2 separate regions of the Homo sapiens genome follow, and region 2 is linked to region 1. Evidence: promoter capture Hi-C in human tissues and cell types (Jung and others, 2019). All regions are on one chromosome and are shown on one strand. The core of a region is centred on a gene start or on the middle of the fragment in contact, and the rest is flanking DNA. Distances in the headings are between cores, read along the strand shown.

What was found. Contacts are between HindIII fragments. The study calls those that stand out against the background at their distance.
Region 2: a fragment that was not itself captured here is called in contact with the fragment with the promoter of ASZ1 in region 1 in 1 of the 25 tissues and cell types used here (lymphoblastoid cells).

The regions. Positions count from the first base shown.
Region 1 is chr7:117,425,253-117,429,710 of GRCh38, forward strand. ASZ1 (ankyrin repeat, SAM and basic leucine zipper domain containing 1) reads right to left here and starts at 2,241. Exons shown (of 13, transcript NM_130768.3): 1 at 2,104-2,241; 2 at 1,584-1,683. The coding sequence starts at 2,208. The HindIII fragment of the contact is 3,572 bases long and covers 1,288-4,458 here.
Region 2 is chr7:118,304,587-118,309,115 of GRCh38, forward strand. The region is part of intron 1 of LOC102724495 (a long non-coding RNA gene); the gene reads left to right. Among named protein-coding and RNA genes, the nearest start is that of ANKRD7, 82 kb to the left of the region's middle. The HindIII fragment of the contact is 4,734 bases long and covers 1-4,529 here.

The DNA of each region.
Region 1 (4,458 bases), core at 991-3,490:
TAATTTCTTTTTTTTTTTTTTTTTTTTTTTTGAGACGGAGTCTCGCTTTGTCGCCCAGGCTGGAGTGCAGTGGCGCGATCTCGGCTCACTGCAAGCTCCGCCTCCCGGGTTCACGCCATTCTCCTGCCTCAGCCTCCCGCGTAGCTGGGACTACAGGCGCCCGCCACCACGCCCAGCTAATTTTTTTTGTGTTTTTTAGTAGAGACGGGGTTTCACTGTGTTAGCCAGGATGGTCTCGATCTCCTGACCTCGTGATCCGCCCGCCTTGGACTCCCAAAGTGCTGGGATTACAGGCGTGAGCCACCGCGCCCGGCCAGTAATTTCAATCATTATAATCAATAATTTACATTTCTATGTGAAGGTAATTTAAAGTTTTTTTTTTATTTAATACACAAAAAATTCATGAAGCCCAGGACAGAATTATGATGCTTTACATAAAGAAACTGATGCTCTCTGGCTGGGGGCGGTGGCTCTTGCTTGTAATCTCAGCACTTTGGGAGGCCGAGGTGGGTGATTACTTGAGGTCAGTAGTTCAAGACCAGCCTGGCCGACATGGTGAAACCCCCGTGTCTACTAAAATTACCAAAATTAGCTGGGCTTGGTGACCGGTGCTTTTAGTCCCGGCTACTCCGGAGGCTGAGGTGGGAGAATCACTTGAATCCCGGCCCCCAGATGGAGGTTGCAGTGAGCGAAGATGGTGCCACTGCACTCCAGCAGGGCTAGAGAGAGACACTCCATCCCCTTCCTTCAACCCCCCAAAAATGAAATCTGATGCTCTCAAAGTTTTAATGCCTCTTCCAAGAAACCAGAGTGGGCAATAAACTGGAAGAAATTATCCATATATTTATTCTGATTCCTAGCTCAGGCCTCATTCCACCAGTACAAAACAAAAAACTGTAACGAGAAAGAACTAAAATGTAGAACCATTTCTTAAGAAACATACAACAGGCAGGGCACGGTGGCTCATGCCTGTAATCCCAGCACTTTGGGAGGCCGAGACAGGCGGATCACAAGGTCAGAGGATCGAGACTATCCTGGCTAACACGGTGAAACCCTCTCTCTATTAAAAATACAAAAAAAAAAAAAAATTAGCCGGGCGTGGTGTCACGCGCTTGTAGTCCCAGCTACTCAGGAGGGTGAGGCAGGAGAATCGCTTGAACCCGAAGGTGGAGATTGCAGTGAGCCAAGATCGCGCCACTGCACTCCAGCCTGGGCCACAGAGCAAGATAACATCTCAAAAAAAAAAAAAAAAAAAAAAGAAAAAGAAAAGAAAAAAGAAACAACATTACAGCAGAGTAAATGAAGAGAGAATTAAGAATGATCAGAGTGGGATAGGATTAGAGTAGGCCTCTTGCTTGAAGGAGGGGGAAGAACTGATGGAAGATAAACAGGGTGGCATTCCAAATGCAAGCAGAGAGGAAGAAAATAAGGCAGACTGGACTCAGTCAACGAAGATTATGCAGGATGATACATTAACATTTGTTGCGTTTCCATTAGAAAAGCAACATAAACCTTTTAAAAATAAAGAATCCTTGCGAACTTAAGACAGCTGTGTTCAGATGAAACTGTCCCTTATCTCTCACCAGAATCTAGGAGCTCCTGGACCAATGAAACATCTCCGATGGTCATTGCTTTCTTAAATTTTTCTTTCTTTTCTTCAATGGGTAATAGCCTTTTCAATTTCTAGAAAAGTAAACATTTTAAAAAATTCTTGTTATATATATTTTTGTTTCCACCTCATCAGGAAACAATAATGTTTGGTTAAGTACACAGGTTTTTTTTCTTGGCTTTATTTTGACTAAGATACAAAGTTTGAAAAGAATTCGTGTCGAAAATTATCTTTCAAGGGAATAGGTAATGATGGATCCAAACCCAACTGAGGAGTTACGATGACCTAAAGAAGCGTATTTGGTGGTAACCACAGTTGGGGAGGGAACACGAGGAAATTTGTGCGGGTTTGCTTAAGTACAAACTCCCGTATTTCCACTGGGTAAAAGGGAAATACACGTGAGGGAGTAGGAGGTTTCACGAGGCTGGGCCTCGCCTTCGAGGGCCAGGGGAGGCTGAAACCAGGTGTGGTCAAGACAAGGCCTCCTCCGCTACCTGAGACGTCCGGTCGAGATACCCAATCTCCCAGCCATCATCCTCGCTCTCGCTACTCTCGCCTCCGCCAGCCACTGGCAGGCCTCGCAGCGCGCTCGCCGCCATGCCAGCCAAGGAAGCTCCCTGTCGGCACCGCGCGCCCTTCAGCTCTCCGGGCGCATGCGCACCGGGGTGGGGCGTACGTAGAGATGCGCGGGAAGGAGCGCCGTGGAAGCGCTCCAGTCTGGAGCCCTCCAGCGCAGGCGCACAGCGGCGCGCTGCTCTCCTCCCTGCCCCGTCCCTCCCTAACCTTGAGGCTTCTTGAGGTGAAAACCTGGCGTGTCTGACACTGGTGACGAAGTTCGTGCGCCAGGCTTCTGCTGGCACTTCCAGTTCCTCTCAGGGACTTACCTTTCGACCTCTTTAAAGTATTTGCTTGATGAAATGATGAAATTCTTGCTCTGCAAGGAATGCCTTACTTGTGGCAGGAGCACACTAGGATTTAACGGCAAGTAAGACTAGACTTTCCCCGCCATCCTTTTCATCTGCCCCCTGCCAAACGTCTGTTAAATCTGTATCCCCTGGGAGACGGACTCTTCGTAGTAACACCTCTCTCAGGAGCACCACTCAGACATTCAAGAAGCCCTTACGCAAGTAGGAGCCGACGAAGGAGCCAGGAGAAAATACTGCCCCAAAGAATTCTTCCTTTACATTTCATGTGATCTTAGATCTCACCTTAGATTTAGAAGCTTCAGACCATCAAAACACTTCCCCGCTATGAAGTGTAGATGTCCTAGAGGAAAATATGAAAGGAGGGGGTTTCCGGGTACAGTGGATCCAAAGAGCCAGAAAGAAAGAAATGACTTAAACGTCCAGAGAGCAAATAATACAAACAACTCCAGGTGGAAGTGGCCCAAGCTCGAACTCACCTTTCTACATGGTTCTAGATGGTAGAACTTCTAGATGTTGGTAACACAGTGATTTTCTTTGCCACCACAGAAAAGTAGATCCACCAAGAAACAGGGCATATTATATGTATCTCAAGATAATAGCCATGCACTATTATTTGAAAGCTTTTGCGGTTTTTTTCTTGCAGATTCTCTGATAAAAGATTTTGAAATTATTTACTTTAGAGGCTCAGAGGTAAGTATTTTTAAGTAGTTTAGCTATTTGCGTGCCACATCTGTCTTTCTAAATGCATTCATTCAATAAATGCTAGGGATTACTTAGCACAGCCAAGTGCTACTAGGTTTGGGGAGACAACGTCAAAGATAAACCATGGAGCCTTATGGAGCTCACTTTAATAAGTAGAGATAGACAATATGCAAGGAAACAAAAACACTATTGCAGATTGTAAGTGCTTCAAAAGAAACAAGTGTGCTCTGTTTCTGGAATCAAACCACTTTTGTGTTTCCTGGGGGAATCACTAGCTGTAGCTGTGTGCCCTTAGGCAATTTACTTAGCATCTATCTGGGTACCAGCTAACTTATCTGTAGAATGGAGGTGATGATAGTACCCACCAAATAGAATTGTTATGAGGACTAAATGAAGTAATAGGCTTAGAATAAGGTCTTTCTCAATGTAAGAGGTAGATTTTAGATAGGATAGTCAGAACTGTGCAGAGTCGTAAATAACAAGCCATATAAGAGTGGGAGAATAGAGCTTTCCTGGCAGTGGACAGGAATAGTGCCAAGGTCCTAAGGCAAGAAAAAAGCAACTCAGGACCAGGATGGGGCAAGTGAGGCTGGGGCAAGTGAGTCCCCTAAGAAGCAAAGTTTAAGGAAGTACTGTCAGGGTCCTGCAAATTCAGTGAGTGCCTTTTTAAATTTTGCTCCTGGGTCACCTCACTTACCTTAGTTCTTGTCCTGCTTGGACCAGAAAGAAGGCCTGAGGCTACAGCTTCGTAAGGATAGGCGTGTGTGATGAGAGGTCCTTGTGGGCCTTAAGTAGGAATCTGGATTTTACTGAAAGCAATTGAACAGTGAAATGTTTTTAAGCTAATGAAAGACATGTTCTGATGTGTGTATGTATTTAAAGACACTCTAGGTCTATTGTAGAGAAGGTTTTTGGTTTGAGCAACTGGCTAAGTAGTCATTGCATTTACTGAGATGGGGGAAGACCAGTGGATAAACGTGAAGATTTAATAGGCATCCCCAAATTAACATATTCAAAACCAAGCAGCCAAGTGTAGCTGTTAAGTGGTTAGTTGGATATTCATGTGTGGACCTTGAGGAAGCCTGGTCTTGGAAATATAAATGTGGGAGTTATCCACATACAATTGGTTTTTAAAAACCTTAGGATTTACCAAGTGATTTTTTTTATAAATATGGATAAGATTATTCCAAATTGTATGTGGAAAGGCAAAGGAAGTAAAAT
Region 2 (4,529 bases), core at 1,064-3,563, 880 kb after region 1:
ATTATCTACATAAACGAAGCATAACCTGGCTCCCACCAATTTCTATTAAAAGTTTGGCTGATGTCACTTTAGAAGAGCCAGGCTTATGTAGAAATGAGCTCTAGGTCAATAAGCCAAAAGTCAGTTCATCAAGTGGCCAATTGGCCAAATGACCTTGTTTCTTTTAACTATATTAATTTTAGTTAACTGGTTTTCATTTTGTCTTCATGATAGCTTTTAAAATAATGATCCATTTGCTTCTCCCCCAGTTTACTAAATAATGTTCTTTTTGTTTCTACTGCAGCTGAAGACCAAGGGCCAGAGGGAGGGAAAGACTGACAGGCATAAAGACATGTTTTTGATTATAAAAAATTCTTAACAATATATTATTCATGAATATATTCTATATATGGATATATTCTTCATGAATGTATTCATTTAAATTTATATATATATATAAACAGAATTTATCTTTAGGAGACTAGATTGTTATGAATATATTTTTCTTAAGAATAGGAATATATAACTCATAAATATTTTAGAATATTAGGAATTTCAAGTTTAATTTTGATTTTATTCTTGAATCGAATCTGTCTCTCCTTTCTCTCTTCATACCTCAAATCCTCCTCTTTTTTCTCCCCCATTGCTAGCTCTTGAGCATGGTGTCATGAAGACAAAATAAGAACCAGTCAATATAGTCAGAAAAAATAAATAAATTAGGTAAATTAGTGAGTTATCTGACCTCTGTGGGGATGCAAACTTGGTGTGGTTGAGGGAAAGTTAATTTGTAATATTTTCTAAAGGAAATATAAGGATGATACTTTGCTTATAAGAAGAGCAGGATAAATTATATCACATAGCTATTAGCACAAATGCTTGGAATGAACATTTTACAACTGTTTTGGATCATTCCTATAATGGCTGCACCTTTGTAAAGATTTATGATTTTAATGCAAGATTGATTTAGAGTCTACATGACTATTATGCAAGATTTGTAGTCCTGCATTGGATTTGTCACTTCACCCTTCATCAAATGGAGGGTAAAAAAGGCCTTACATGCGCTGAGTTAAAAGAGAAGAAAAGGTAAATAAATTATATGAAGATATTTATATTTGATGTATGTCATAAGTTTGCAGATAATGCTATTAAATAAGCAAATCCTGCTGAATTTAAGGAATAGGGGAATTGTCTTTTAGTTATCTTATTTGAGAGATTTAAATAAGCCCACAGTAAAAAGCATACACAGAAAGCAATGTGTTTCCCAATACTTTAATAGAAAGCCTGGTCAGAGCTTCCTGCCTATCTGTTGATTCACTGTACAACACTGTGCTGTGAACGGGTCAGTTACATCCTTTTCCAGTTACCCTGTTTTGCTGTATGAATGCAATTCTTTTCTATGTGTGCTGCATTGTAAGCAAGGTGGAAAGTACTGGCTAGACAATGCTAATATTAAAAACAATTTTTATTTTAGCCTTTAAGAATTGTGTGATTGCCACTTTACACTGATACCCTCTGGCAAAAAGACTAACAACAGCAAAAAAAGTCAATGAACCTTTTTTTTTTCTTTGCCTTCTTAAAGAATTGACTAAAAAATTGCTCCTGACCAACAGTTTTAAAATTCAGTCAACTTCACAGGGAAAGCAAGTGACTGAACACTGTTAGGGAATGACTCCTCCACTCCAATGCCATCAAATTAGATGTAATGAGTAGGTGACCTGAATACCATGTATGAAATCTGTTATTCTGAGAAACTCATTTGATTACTGAATCAGGGATTTAAAGGGTGACTTCCATAATAATTAAACCAGAAATAAAATAGTCCTAGAAAGATAAGTAAGTGACAGTCTCTTGCTTTGATTTCTAGATCTCCATTATCTGAAAATTCATCTGAAAGGCAGTAGGCAAGAGTTGAAACAACAGGGTGCCATTTCTTTAGAAAAAAAAGATATCTCAAAACTGAAAATATTAATAGAACCTTACTTACTAACGTGGATAATTGATAGAACATTGATCTGAATGAATGAAAACACTGAATTGCAAAATTTATTCAAAGAAAGTTAGTTCATTCTAAATTTATAGTTATACAAATAAGCTTAATAAAATATGTTGTTATTAAATGTCCTTTATATCAAGTGGAAATAATTCATGATTGGTTAGCTTCCTAGGACTTCTGTAACGAAGTACCACAAACTGTGTGGCTTAAAACAACAGAAATGTATTCTCTCATGGTTCTAGAGACTAGAAGTCTGAAATCAAGAGCTGGCAGGTTGGTTCCTTCTGAAGACCTTGAGAGAGAATCTGTTTCATGACTCTCAGCTGCTGGTATTTGCCAGCAATCTTCGGTGTTCTGTCGTCTAGATGTATCACTCTAATCTCTGCTTCTGTTTTCACATGACATTCTCTCCATGTATCTCCCTGTGTTCAAATTTCTCTCTTCTGTATAAGGACATGACTCATTGGCTTAGGGCCCACCCTAGTCCAGTATGACCTCATCTTAACTAATTACATCTGTGAAGACCCTATTTACAAATAAGGTCACATTCTGAGGTTCTGAATGGATCTGAATTTTGGGGAACACTATTCAACCCAGTATAATTAATACAGTAAACCACCAGCCCAGACAATTAGCTACACCTGGCACAGACACTAATGAGTTGTTTGCAATACATCTGCAAGGCTTTAAATTGTTTTTTAAGAAACAAAATTTGGCCTGTAATTCCAGCACTTTGGGAGACCAAGGTGGGTGGGTCACTTGAGCCCAGGAGTTTGAGACTAACCTGGGCAACATGGTGAAACCTTGTCTCTACAAAAAATACAACAGTTAGCTGGACATGGTGGTGTGTGCCTATAGTTCCAGGTACTCAGGAGGCAAAGATGAGAGGATTGATTAAGCCTGAGAGGTTGAGGCTGCAGTGAGCTATGATTTTGCCACTGCACTCCAGCATCGGTGACAGAGGGAGACCCAGTCTCAAAACAAACAAACAAAAGAAATAAAATTTGCTATATCTATATTTTTATTACCAATTTCTTGGTGACTCTTTAATATTGATATGATAAACTTAGCTCATTTCTTCTTTTAATTACCACATATTCTAAATGTATTAAATTAGAACAAATGATTTTATCATAATTATACTTGGAATTCATTAGTATAACCATCATCTACGGAATAACACCCATTTTTTGGAGGACAATTAATGTGATGAAGGGAATGCAGCGAAAGTATATTATCTAAAGTGATATTTTTTTCAATTAAATGGCTCATGAATCTAATTTGTTCATACCAATATGTAATGGCTGCTGGAGAAATAAACTGTAAACTATGTTTGAATGGTATCAGGCTGGATTACCCTGCTACCTCCCTGTCCTCTAGTTTTCTTGGGCTGACTTTATTTTAAAATCCAAAAAGAGTATAGTGACATCCATACTACCTACCTGGAGGAGCCCACTGGTGCTCTCGTTAATATGTTTGCTAATTCCTGGGTAATGGGGAGAAGAGGTTACCTTCTGTATTAGTCCATTCCCACACTGCTAATGAAGACATACCCAAGACTGGATAATTTATAAAGGAAAGAGGTTTAATTGACTTACAGTTCAGCATGGCTGGGAGGCCTCAGGAAACTTACAATCACGATGGAAGGTGAAGGGGAAGCAAGGCACCTTCTTCATAAGGTGGCAGAAAGGAGAAGTGCCAAGTGAAGGGGGAAGAGCCCCTTATAAAACCATCAGATTTTGTGAGAACTCACTCACTATCATGAGAAAAGCACGGGGGACACCACCCATATGATTCAATTACCTCCACTTCGTCTCTCCCTTGACACATGGGAATTATGGGGATTCCAATTCAAGATGAGATTTGGGTAGGGACACAAAGCCTAACCATATCATTCTGCTCTGGCCCCTTCAAAATCTCATGTCCCTTTCATATTTTAAAATCAGCCATGCCTCCCAACAGTCCCCCAAAGTCTTAACTCATTCCAGCATTAACCCAAAAGTCCAAGTCCAAAGTCTTATGTGAGACAAGGCAAGTCCCTTCTGCCTATGATCCTGTAAAATCGAAAGTAAGTTAGTTACTTCCTAGATACAATGGTGGTACAGGCGTTTGGTAAATACATGCATTCCAAATGGGTGAAATTGGCCAAAACAAAGGGGCTACAGGACCCATGCAAGTCTGAAATCCAGCAGGACAGTCAAATCTTAAAGCTCTGAAATGATCTCCTTTGACTCCATGTCTCACATCCAGGTCATGCTGATGCAAAATGTGGGCTCCCATGGCCTTGGGCAGTTCCACCTCTATGGCTTTTCAGGATACAACCCCTTTCCTGGCTGCTTTCATGAGCTGGCGTTGAGTATCTGCATCTTTTCCAGGCACACAGTGCAAGCTGTTGGTGGATCTACCATTCTGGGGTCTAGAGGATGGTGGCCATCTTCTCACAGCTCCACTAGGCAGTGCACCAGTGTGGATTCTGTGTGGGGGCTTTGATCTCACATTTCCTTCTGTACTGCCCTAGCAGAGGTTCTCCATGAGGGCTCCACCCCTGCAGAAAACT